Regions from separate parts of the Homo sapiens genome. Here region 1 is linked to region 2. Evidence: promoter capture Hi-C in human tissues and cell types (Jung and others, 2019). All regions are on one chromosome and are shown on one strand. The core of a region is centred on a gene start or on the middle of the fragment in contact, and the rest is flanking DNA. Distances in the headings are between cores, read along the strand shown. Region 1 overlaps PDE8A (phosphodiesterase 8A). Region 2 holds the start of ZNF592 (zinc finger protein 592).

What was found. Contacts are between HindIII fragments. The study calls those that stand out against the background at their distance.
Region 1: a contact is called between a fragment that was not itself captured here and the fragment with the promoter of ZNF592 in region 2, in 1 of the 25 tissues and cell types used here (spleen).

What each region holds. Positions count from the first base shown.
Region 1 is chr15:85,013,630-85,019,835 of GRCh38, reverse strand. All of the region lies in intron 1 of PDE8A (phosphodiesterase 8A), which reads right to left. Among named protein-coding and RNA genes, the nearest start is that of PDE8A, 35 kb to the right of the region's middle. The HindIII fragment of the contact is 5,250 bases long and covers 677-5,926 here.
Region 2 is chr15:84,744,339-84,750,211 of GRCh38, reverse strand. It overlaps ZNF592 (zinc finger protein 592), which reads right to left and starts at 1,620. Exons shown (of 11, transcript NM_014630.3): 1 at 1,548-1,620. RefSeq lists enhancers at 649-728, 1,257-2,096, 2,169-2,468 and silencers at 1,129-1,618, 1,679-2,098. The HindIII fragment of the contact is 21,328 bases long and covers 1-5,873 here.

The DNA of each region.
Region 1 (6,206 bases), core at 2,052-4,551, 270 kb before region 2:
GGCCAAGGTGGGCAGATCACTTGAGGTCAGGAGTTTGAGACCAGCCTGGCCAACATAGTGAAACCTCGTCTCTACTAAAAATACAAAAATTAGCCAGGTGTGGTGGTGGGTGCCTGTAGTCCCAGCTACTTGGGAGGCTGAGGCAGGAGGATCACTTGAACCTGGGAGGTAGAGGTTGCAGAGCCAAGATCATGCCATTGCACACCAGCCTGGGTGACAAGAGCGAAACTCTGACTCCAAAACAAAACAAAAAAAACCCCACAAAAATAATGAATAGTATTAAGAAGCCAAGCACAGTGCTCCTGTAATGCCAGCTATTCGGTAGGGGCTGACATACGTGGATCGTTTGAGCCCAGGAGTTCTAGTCCAGCCTGGGCAACACAGCGAGACCCCATTTCTTTAAAATAAAATTTTAAAAGTGTTAAGAACACTCATAAACCCATCACTCAAATCAAAAATTTTTTAAATGTTGATACATTTGCTATGTCTATCTTTTTGACTGTAGTATTTTCAAGAAAATCCCTCACATTTTTCACCCCTAAATACATCTATGTGTGTATGCAGATTTTTCTACTCAACCACAATTCCATTTTCACACCTAACAAAATTTAAAAATAACCTCTTAATATCATCCATCACTCATATACATTTCCCTTACAGAAGAGTTTTTAACTCCTAAGTTCCTCACACCAAAACCTTTTACCCCAGCAAGTTCACAATAGTGAACTGCCCTTACCACCAAAGGGCAACCTCTTTAGAGATGGAAGCAGGGAGGCAGCAAGGCTTGACCAACTACACCTCCCAAGTAACTATACTGCTAGGAGAGTCTATAAAAAAGGACAATTTCTACATGATGCAAAAATACCAAAATCCATTTTTAAAACAGAGGAAAAATATTTTCATTATACAAAGAGTAAATAACCTTAATGTAAATGGTACTTACACCCCAAAGTAAAAATGATCCAAGAGCATTAAAAATGGCAAAGGTGGATGTATCAATTCCAAAAAATACATTTAAAATATTCTTACTAGTAATCAAATAAGTACATATTCATATAACAACTTGCTATTTGTCATCCAAATTAGCAAAGATTTTTTTGAAAAAAGAATTCATACTGGTAAAAATGTGGCTCTGCAAGTGTGTAAAATGGAGAACAATTTGTCATTATGTTCCAAAATCCTTACTCTATTTCCAGGAATTATCCTAAAGAAAGCATAAGATATATACACATAATTATAGAAACAAGCATTTCATGGCAATGTTACTTATTCCTAATACTAAAAAAAAGATGATGTGAGGGTTAACCATCTACCCAATAGTAAGAGACTGGTTAAATAGATCATGGTTTGCCCCTAAGATGGATACTAGAGATTGACGTTGCTTAAAGTGTGGCCCGTGGACCAACTGTTAATAATCCACAATGAAATAAAGAGTTTAAGACAGAATGCAGATCAACCACAAAAATTTTTTAACAACAAAAAATCCTCAAGGAAGAAATCAGTAAATGAGTGTGGTGACTTACATCTGGCATAGACTCATCTTGTCCTGAAACAGTAAGAAACAGTTTATCTACATGACTATTTTAATTAGTACCACTACAGACTCTACTTCCAAAATATATCCCAAGTTTGCCTATATCCCTCTACATCTACTGCTACCATGAAATCCAAACTACTTCTCTGAAGAGCTGCAAAAGTCCTGTAGTTAGCCTACTGCCACTTCTGTTGCTCTACAATCTACTTTTCACTTGATAGCCAAAGTGGTTGTTTTGAAACGCTCATCAAACCATACTTATTCTGGATATTATAACTACAGAATTGAGAGTAGAAATAATCACAATATCTACCACCACCATCCTGGGCATATCTCATCCATACTTTGAAAAGAAGCAAAAAACACAAAAACTTTCTCCACATAATTTCCTCCCACTATTGCTTTTTTTTTTTTGAGACGGAGTTTCGCTCCTGTTGCTCAGGCTGGAGTGCAATGGCGCGATCTCGGCTCACTGCAACCTCTGTCTCCCAGGTTCAAATAATTCCCCTGCCTCAGCCTCCCTAGTAGCTGGGATTACAGGTGCCCACCACCACACCCGGCTAATATTTATATTTTTAGTAGAGACAGGGTTTCACCATGTTGGCCAGGCTGGTCTTGAACTCCTGACCTCAAGTAATCCACCCGCCTCAGCCTCCCAAAGTGTTGGGATTACAGGCGTGAGCCACCGTGTCCGGTCTTATTCCTTTAATAAAAGTGTAAAAGTCTGCTAAATATTAATGGGGAAAAACTAGAACTTTCCTGACAAAGTTAGAAACAAGACACACTATTTTGTATAAAACATTATCTTCTTTATTATTTTAACACTGTATTAAAGATACTATCCAATGCAATAAGAGACTGCAATTAGTGGTCTAAAAATTGGAAAAGAGGTAAAACTCTATTTACAAATAATATAATGATATGTCTGGAAAACCCCAAAGAATTTATGTGCTATGTATTACAAATCAGAGAACTTAGCAGGCTATATAAGAAACATATCAAAATCAACAGGCTTCATTTATTTATTTTTTTTTTTTTTGGAGTCTCGCTCTGTCGCCCAGGCCGGACTGCGGACTGCAGTGGCGCAATCTCGGCTCACTGCAAGCTCTGCTTCCCGGGTTCACGCCATTCTCCTGCCTCAGCCTCCCGAGTAGCTGGGACTACAGGCGCCCGCCACCGCGCCCGGCTAATTTTTTGTATTTTTAGTAGAGACGGGGTTTCACCTTGTTAGCCAGGATGGTCTCGATCTCCTGACCTCATGATCCACCCGCCTCGGCCTCCCAAAGTGCTGGGATTACAGGCGTGAGCCACCGCGCCCGGCCCAGGCTTCATTTATTAAAAAAAAAAAAAAGGGAAATTCAGTTAGAAACATAATGGAAGAGAAAATCCTACTTATGAAAGCAAAAAATAATAGAACATCTGGCATAAACTCAATAAGGAACTCTATGAGGAGAGTCATAAAAACACTCCCAAAAAACCACAAGAGATTTAAACAAGTAAAAAGACATACCATGTTCTTGTATAAGAAGATACAACATCACAATGATGTCAGTTCTCCCTATACTAATTTGTAAATATAATACAACCTCAATAAAAAGAAAAAACCTTTGAGTTTTCTTCCCACAGCTAGACAAGCTAATTATAAAGTTCATCTGTAAAAACAAACAAGCAAGAACAGCCAGAAGACCCTGAAAAGGGAAAGAAAAGAGAGAGGAATAGCCTTGCAAGATAATTCTTATACAGCTCTATAATTAAAACAGTGTGGTAGTGGCACATAATTAAAGAGAGACTAATGGAACAGTACAGAGAATCCAGAAATGAACTCAATTATGAATGGAATTTATCTCAAATTAGTGTGGGGGAATGAACAAAATAAGTGGTGCTGGGAATAATTCCATAGCCATATGGAAAAAAAGATTAAACTGAATTTATTCCTCATATCATACACCAAGATAAATTCCAAATGGATTGAAGATTTAAATGTGAAAAATAAAACCATTGAGTACATGGGTAAATATTTTATAACATGGAGTATGGAAAGCTTTCCCATTATGACTCAAACTCCAGAAGATATTAGGGGAAATATTGTTAGAATTAATTACATAAAAATTTAAATTTGCAATGACAAGTCATTTTTTAAATTTTATTTATTTATTTATTTTGAGACCAAGTCTTGCTTGGTCACCCAGGCTGAAGTACAGTGAGTGGCGCGACCTCAGCTCACTGCAACCTCCACTTCCCGGGTTCAAGTGATTGTTATGCCTCAGCCTCCCAAGTAGCTGGGATTACGGATGTGCACCAACACACTCAGCACATTTTTGTATTTTTAATAGAGACGAGGTTTTGCCATGTTGGCCAGGCTGGTCTCCAATTCCTGGCCTCGAGTGATTGCCCACCTCACCCTCCCAAAGTGCTGGGATTACAAGTGTGAGCCGCCACGCCCAGCCGACAAGTCATCTTAAAACAAAAGGAGAAATAAAGAAATGGAAAGAATATTTGCAATATAGAAAGAGATGCCAAAAATGGAAGGAAAATACAAACGACCCTTTGGAGAGAGTCTAGAGTGATATGGACAGATAGTTAACAAAAAAAGGAATGCAGAGTTTAAACATGTGAAAAGATGCTCAATCTCAATCACGATATGAGAAGTAAAATGATAACTAAAAACCATAGTGAGATATCACAAAATATTCTATGGCAAGGCAGTAGAGAAATAATACTTTCTGATACACTGCTGGTAAAAATTCAGAATGGTACAACCCTTATAGAGGGAAATTGAACAACACCTAGCAAAATTCACATTAAAAAACAAAAAAGATGACTCTCAGCACTTTGGGAGGCTGAGGCAGGTGGGTTGCTTGAGCCCAGTAGTTTTGAGACCTGCCTGGGCACCATAGTGAGACTCCATCTTTACAAAAATTAGCCAGGCGTGATGTGGTCCCAGCTACTCAGGAGGCTGAGGCAGGAGGATCACCTGAGCCCGGGAGGTCGAGGCTCCGGTGAGCTGTGATTGCACCACTGCTCTCTAGCCTGGGCAACCCTGTCCAAAAAAAAAAAGACTTATGCACAAGGTCATATAATAATGTAGGGAAACAACTCAAATGTTCAAATGTTCACCAACATGAGCTGGTTAGCTAAGGTATAGACAGATCAAGCCGGTGGAGCACTGTGCTGCTAAAAAAGGAAGGAGGAACTGATTCAAACTATTAATAAAACATGGATGAACCTTGAAAACATTATGCTAACTGAAAGAAACCAGACACAAAGGCCAGAAATTATATGATTTTACTTAAATCAAACGTTCATTGGTAAATTCAGAGAGACAGAAAATAGATTAGTGGTTGCCAGAGGCTGGGGGTGTAGCGGGTAAAGGGGCAGGAGGCAATGGGGAGGGACTGTTATTAGGTACAGGGTTTCTTTGATGAAAACATTCTAGGATTAGTGGTAATGGTTGCACAACTTTGATTATACTAAAAAACCAATGAATTGTCTACTTTATAAGGGCGAGTATATGAATTATATTTCAATTTTTTTAAGAATGAACAATTCCTCCATAGACAACTATGGAGTGATCCCAAGGATATGCTGTGAAGCGAGAAAAGCAAATCAAGAGTACTATGTACAGTATGCCACCATTTCTCTAAAAGGGGTATAAATATATGAACATCAATATAGGTAATAAGAGCAATTGACTGAAACATATCAAATACATTAAAATACTTAACTTCATAGTAATACAAATAACATTTAACAGGTCCCCTTTGGAGGATATTAGGAAGTCAAACCATTATTCTGAAAACTGGTATAATAAATGGAGAACAAGAAACAAGCATTTATCCTGCCTATGCTATTCAAACTTTATCACATAGTTAATGAGAGGAGCTTCTCTTTATAGAGGTATTCAGTATTAAATGAAAAAGTAATGAGAGAATTAGAATATCACCATTTGCCGCCATATCACCACTAATGAATGAAATATGTGATGACTGTGGCCAGGACTAGTGGCCCGCACCTGTACTTCCAACTCCTCGGGAGGCTGAAGCAGGAGAATAGCTTTAGCCCAGGAGTTCGAGGCTGCATTAAGCTATTATCATGCCACTGCACTCCAGCCTGGTAGCCTGGGGGACAGAGCAAGACCCTGACTTTAAAAAAAAAGAAAAAGAAAAAGAAAAAGAAAGGAAGAAAGAAAGATGTGATTATCATCACAAGATCGTGTATCATCTCCACCCTGAATCAAGGCTGGTATATGTAATGCATAAAATACAGTGGAACTGACAATATGTAGTCTAGGCTAGGTCAAACAGGGCATTGTAGCTTCTGCTTTGACTTCCTGGATCACTTCTCTGCGGGAAGCCAGCGGGTACCTGAGCAGCCCTGTGAAGCTGACACACATGGAGAGGAATTGGGCCTTTCCTCAAACCCCAAAACATCCTGCACTAACTTGGCCAATCATATGAGTGAAGCACCTTGGAAGTGAATCCGCTGGCCCACTAAAGGTTTTGGATGACCAAAGACCCAGCCAACACCTGACTGCAACCTCAAGAGAGACTATGAGCCAGAACTATTGAGCCCCGCTTCTCTCAAATTCCTGAACCAAAGAAACAGTGAGAAATAAATGCTTATTACTGTTTTAAGCCAGTAAACTTTGGGGTAATTTGTTATGCAACAAATA
Region 2 (5,873 bases), core at 371-2,870:
CGTGCCTCAGCCTCCCAAGTAGCTGGGATTACAGGCATGCACCACCACACCCGGCTAATTTTGTATTTTTTTAGTGGAGACGGGGTTTCACCATGTTGGTCAGGCTGGTCTCGAACTCCTGATCTCAGGCGATCCACCCGCCTCGGCCTCCCAAAGTGCTGGGATTACAGGCGCGAGCCACCGCGCCCGGCCACGACTATTAATTATTAGACTTTCCCAATGGCTAAGAACTAAAACATGGTATCTTTCTGGCTTACCAATGTACTCCCAACACCTAGCTCAGTGCCTGGCACAGAGTAAGTGCTCAGTAAAAATTTATTTAATGAATCAAAGCCACAACTAGTTGAAAAATTGGAAAATGATCAAAATGGACGCACTAGCACCACACTTCTGCCCCTTTCACTGTGTAACGTAACAGTGAGGTTGAGGAAACAGACTACTAAAATACCACCAAGCATCCACCAGGCCAGGAATCTGTCTGTCCACATCCTCCGCACTCTGCCACACTGTGCACCACACTGCACCCGCGACAGAAGCACCCTACAGGCCCTCCATGAGCACAGGCCTGAACTCAAGTGGGCAAACCATAAGCCAAATACCGTCTTACTCCCCAAGTCCCATTCTTCTACTGCCAGTCCTATTCTAGACTAGTCCTGGATGCCAAACATGCTTCCCTGGGTGGGCCTGTGGACTTATTCCAATCCAGGACCTTTAATGCCACCTTTGGCCTACTCAAAAAATGGTTTAAAATCCCTAAACAGCTTCAATAATCCTGCAGTACTCAGGAGCAGGCATACCTAAGGTCATACGGACCCCTCCCCCTCACAAACGCTGATCCAAGGCCAGGAGGCCATCTGTCCAGCAGACGCTCTCCTGTCCTCCCTCAGGTCACACTGAGCCTCCCGCCAACCCCCTCGTTGGCAGGAAGAGCCCTTGCAGAGAGACAATTTTCACCCTGATCAACAGGCCTGGTCACCCCTGAGGACCCCAACTCTGGAGCTCTAGGAATACCTGTCTGCTCCGGGAGAAACCTTCCTCAGGGTCAGAACTTGGGCTCAGGGGAGGGGAGTACTGAGGAGCGCCAAAGAGGGTCGTTCCCCGAAGTGTCTGCCCTGTGACGGCGACAGCTCTTCGGGCGGCGGGGACGGTCGGGCTGACAGGCCGTCCCAGAGGGAGAAAGTGGCACCGTTATCCGTGCCCGGGCTGGGGGCCGCCGGCTATCGCCGAGGGCGGCCGCACGTCCCGCCCAGCGCGGAGGACAGCAGCGTGCCCGGCCTGCCAAGGAGCGGCGGTCGCAGCGGCGGTCGCAGCGGCGGAAGGGGCCGGCGCCCGACGGCCGGGGGCGGGGTGGGGTGGCGGCCCGGGCCCGCCAGGCGGCGGTCGGGGGAAGTGGCTGCCGCCTCTGGCGGCGGCCAGGGTCCGCCAGGCTGCAGGGCCGGGCCCCGGCTCGGGCTCGGACTCGGTCCCGGCTGCGATCCTCCCGGGCCCAGGCTGGGGCTGCCCCGGCCCGCAGGCCCCGCTCGGCCCGGCCCGCGGGGGGCGCTTACCTGGCGGCGGCGGCGGCGACTGCAGGCCAGAGTCTCGGCCGCGCGCGTCCCCAGCGCCGGCTGCGGGAGCCACAACATGGCGACGGCGATGGCGGGCGGGGCTGCGGCTCCGGGGGCGGAGCGGGGGCGGGAGCCGGCCTGGCGGCGGGACCTGGCTGGGGCTGCCGCGGCGGGGGATTGGGGGGGGGGGGGGGCAGGCGGAAGGCGACTCGGACCTGGGCACCGGCCCAGGACGGTGCGGTGGAGGGGCTGCCCCGGCCTGGGCCCGGCCTCCCGCCTCCCGCCTCCCGCCCGAGGCGGGCTGCGCGGCGCAGGCCCGGCGACGGCGACGACGGCGGCGGCGGGTAGGGCGGGGCGGGACGCGACGGGACGGGGCGGGGCGGGGACGGCGCCGCTCAGGGCTGGACCCCCGACCCCGGCCGGCCCCCGCCCGGCTCCAGTCCCCGCCACCCGTGCTAGGCACCCTGTGCGGTCGGGCAGGCAGCCGCTGCCAGCGACCTGGGCCTCTTGTCCTCTGACGCGCCTCGGGGCAGGGGCAGGGGCCGAGGCCGCCCACTAGAGGAACAGGATCTGCCTACGCAGCTGTCTCGCCCGGCAAAGAGCGCCCAGGACCCGGGACTGCGTCCTCTTCACTGAGACCTGGCGCATAGGGGGCCTAGTCGAGGCTGTTAAGTGAAAGCAAGCAGGGGTGGCGTGGGCCTGGCGCTCAGGTGCGCCCTAAATGTTTGGTCATAGCTGGCTACAAGGACATTCGCGCAGGCTTGGAGGTGCGGGGCAGCCTGACGTGTTGCCTCTGGGGTAACCGAGGGACGCGCGGCAAACAGAGATGGAGGACTGGCAACGGGTGCCTCGAAGAGGTAGACTGGGAGATCTCTCAGGGTTACTGGGGAAACGATGACTGTGCAGGGTGAGAACTCAGTGAGTCTGGCAGAAGGCTGGGAGGGTGACCGGCAGGACCTTCCAAGAACCCGGCGTACCTGGAAACTGGGTCCGCAGCATTAGGGCGGCAGCAAGGTCAGGGTGTGGGAACACGGAGATGAGGCCCTGGTGACTAGGAGTGAGCACACACTGCTAACCATGGAGAAATTCCTTCTCCAGGAAGGAGATGCAAATGTGCAAGATGGCTGGAACTAACATGCAGCCGGAGCCTGCTGTGCACCAGGCACAGAACTGAGTTGAAGAGCTTGTCTAAAGAGTATGTTAGCCAATGAAGCAATGGAGTTAATAAAGGGTGATGATTTCAAATGTTTGGCAGTGAGAGAGAGAAAAGTAGGCCTGGAGCTCAAGAAGTACCAAGAGTAAAGGAGAAAGTTGGGTCCTACTGTGGAAGCTGAGGCAAAAGCATCCCTTAAGCCGAGAAGTTTGAGTTCAGCCTGGGCAACATAGCGAGACCCTCCCTCTCTGCAAAAGAGTAAAGGGAAAAGTTGATTGTTTTTTGTTTTTTTTTTTTGTCTTTGGAGACGGAGTTTCGGTCTCGCAGCCCAGGCTGTAGTGCAATTGCGTGGTCTCGGCTCACTGCAACCTCTACCTCCAGAGTTCCAGTGATAATCCAGCCTCAGCCTTCAAAGTAGCTGGAATTACAGGCGCACGCCACCATGCCTGGCTTTTTTTTTTTTTTTTTTTTTTTTTTTTTTTGAGAGAGAGTTTCGCTCTTGTTGCCCAGGCTGCAGTGCAATGGCACAATCTCGGCTCACTGCAACCTCTGCCTCCTGGGTTCAACCGATTCTCCTGCCTCAGCCTCCCGAGTAGCTGGGATTACAGGCATGCGCCACCATGCCTGACTAATTTTGTATTTTTAGTGGAAATGGGGTTTCAACATGTTGGTCAGGCTGGTCTCAAACTCCTGAACTCAGGTCATCCACCCGCCTCGGCCTCCGAAAGTGCTGGGATTACATGCATGAGCCACCGCACCCGGCCCTAATTTTTGTATTTTTAGTAGAGATGGGGGTTCGCCATGTTGGCCAGGCTGGTCTCGAACTCCTGACCTAAGGTGATCCACCTGCCTTAGCCTCCCAAAGTGTTGGAATTACAGGCATGAGCCACCATGCCTGGCCGGTGATTTTTTTTTTTTTTTTCCTAACTTGAGTGGGGAGACCTTAACTAAAGGAGCTGAGAGGGGAGAATGGCAGATAGATGTAGGATAATTGATGGTGCAAGAAACCAGAAAAGGAAAAGTAGATGGGAAGGGGGAAAGGGGTGAGCAAAAAGTCAGAGAAGTCCGCCTCTTCCTACAAGATTTAAAGAGTGCATAAAGATTGAAATATTTTGAGGTAGGGAGGCATGCATGCTTCCATGGATCAGCTGCCTGGATTACCCTCTACAATCATCCTTAGGGCAGCTGGGGTCACTGTCCTTTAAAATTTAAGTACAATTGACTCCAAACCTGTGTACCACTTAAGAAACCCAGCATACCTGCCAATATCTCCAGAGTTTCATTGGGAACTTACATTTCTCCTAATTATCTCAGGCCCTAATTTCTTGTTTGCAAAAAATATTGTGCTCTTTGGAAGATTTGTCACCATATCCCAGATATTAGTCCATTTATATTACCTCAAAATATTGCACCCTACCTATAAGCAGGAAAAATGCCCAATATTATATTATTATATTATAGTTATATGATTGTTAAATAAACTAGAGTTTGTGGCCATTAAAAATCATGGTAAATAAAAAGATTTAATGATGTGGGAAATCTTTATAATTAAAAGCACATTATAAGGTGATATAGCAGATGGTAATATATAAATATACATAAATAAGTATAATGCGTAGATTTTAAAATGAGACTTTTCTTCTGTGACATCTATATTTTCTTATTTTTATAGTGCATGTATATTTCTCCTGGAAGCAGGGAAATGGTATCTTTAAGTAGCTTTTAAAAGTATTTTTAAGAAAGGTGTTTTTTAAAAGATATTTATGGGGTTCGAAAGAAAAAAATATTAGGGCTGGGCATGATGGCTCATGCCTGTAATTCCAGCTACTTGGGAGGCCGAGGCTGGTGGATCACCTGAGGTCAGGAGTATGGGACCAGCCTGGCCAACATGGTGAAACCCCATCTCTACTAAAAGTACAGGCGTGGTGGCACGCCTGTAGTCCCAGCTACTTGGGTGGCTGAAGCATGAGAATCACTTGAACCCAGGAGGTGGAGGTTGCAGTGAGCTGAGATTGCACCACTGCACTCCAGTCTGGGCAACAGAGTGAGAATCTGTCTCAAAAGAAAAAGAAAAATATATTAGGACTCTGGAAAGGAATTTGGAAATGAATCTTTGAAGTGTAGATGGGACTTTAGCAAATAGAGATGGGCTGAGTAAGGAGACTGTCCCAGGCAGAAGGAACAGTACAACCAAGAACCCACAGTGGGAAATAGATGGAGTGTTCAGAGGGGAGCACCAAGAAATCCATTTGGCTGGAGCACAGGACTGGTGTAGAAGAAAAGTAGGGGAATCAATGTGGAAAGGTAAGGTAGGAAATGGGGTTTCATGGACTAAAATAAAAGGAAAAATAATGACTATATCAAAAATGGTCCTGAATGCCAAGCTGAACCCTGTGTCTTTTGCATGTCAGGAAGAACCACTGAGGCTTGAACAGTGCAGGTAATAAATTTGCAAATAAATTGTCCTGTAACTTCTTACTCAATGAGGTTTGAGGTCTCAACCCATCAGTCCTAATATTTGGACATCTAATTGACTCAGAGCAATGAGTTAGGGGCAGCAGTCTTTGCATTACAGCTGTTTACAGACTGAAAGTTGGGCCTTGCTTCTCTGGCTATTAATGACTACAATTTCTATTCACCAGCACAGTTTCAGAGCGAGAACAAATTAGCAAAGAGTAAAATGGAAAGGAAAAAGAAATGTGCACCTTAAACTAGTACTTTGAAAACTTTTTTGACTGCAATCCTCCATAAGAAATGTATTTTACACCTCAACCCAGAACATACGCATGCCTGCGCGCACACACACACACACACACACACACACACACACACACCCCGTAAGACGAAAGTTTCATGAAATACTACCCTTATTTTATGAAATGCACTCTGATATTTTCAACTGATTAATCTTATTCTTTTTAAATGCTGATCAGGACCTACTACATTGATTCCATAACCCACTGCTGGGTCACAAAGGACATTGAAAAGAGGCTCAACTATAGCCAGATAGCCTGCACCCTTAAGCTTGCCATGTTTACATGTCCCAGAAATCAACAGGACAGACGAGACTCTTCTAAGATGCTGTGGAGGGGTGGGATGGAAGGATTGACAGGAGCCATGTTTGGGTTTCTCTTCCCTTCTCAGTATATATTTCCTAATATCAATATTTCTCA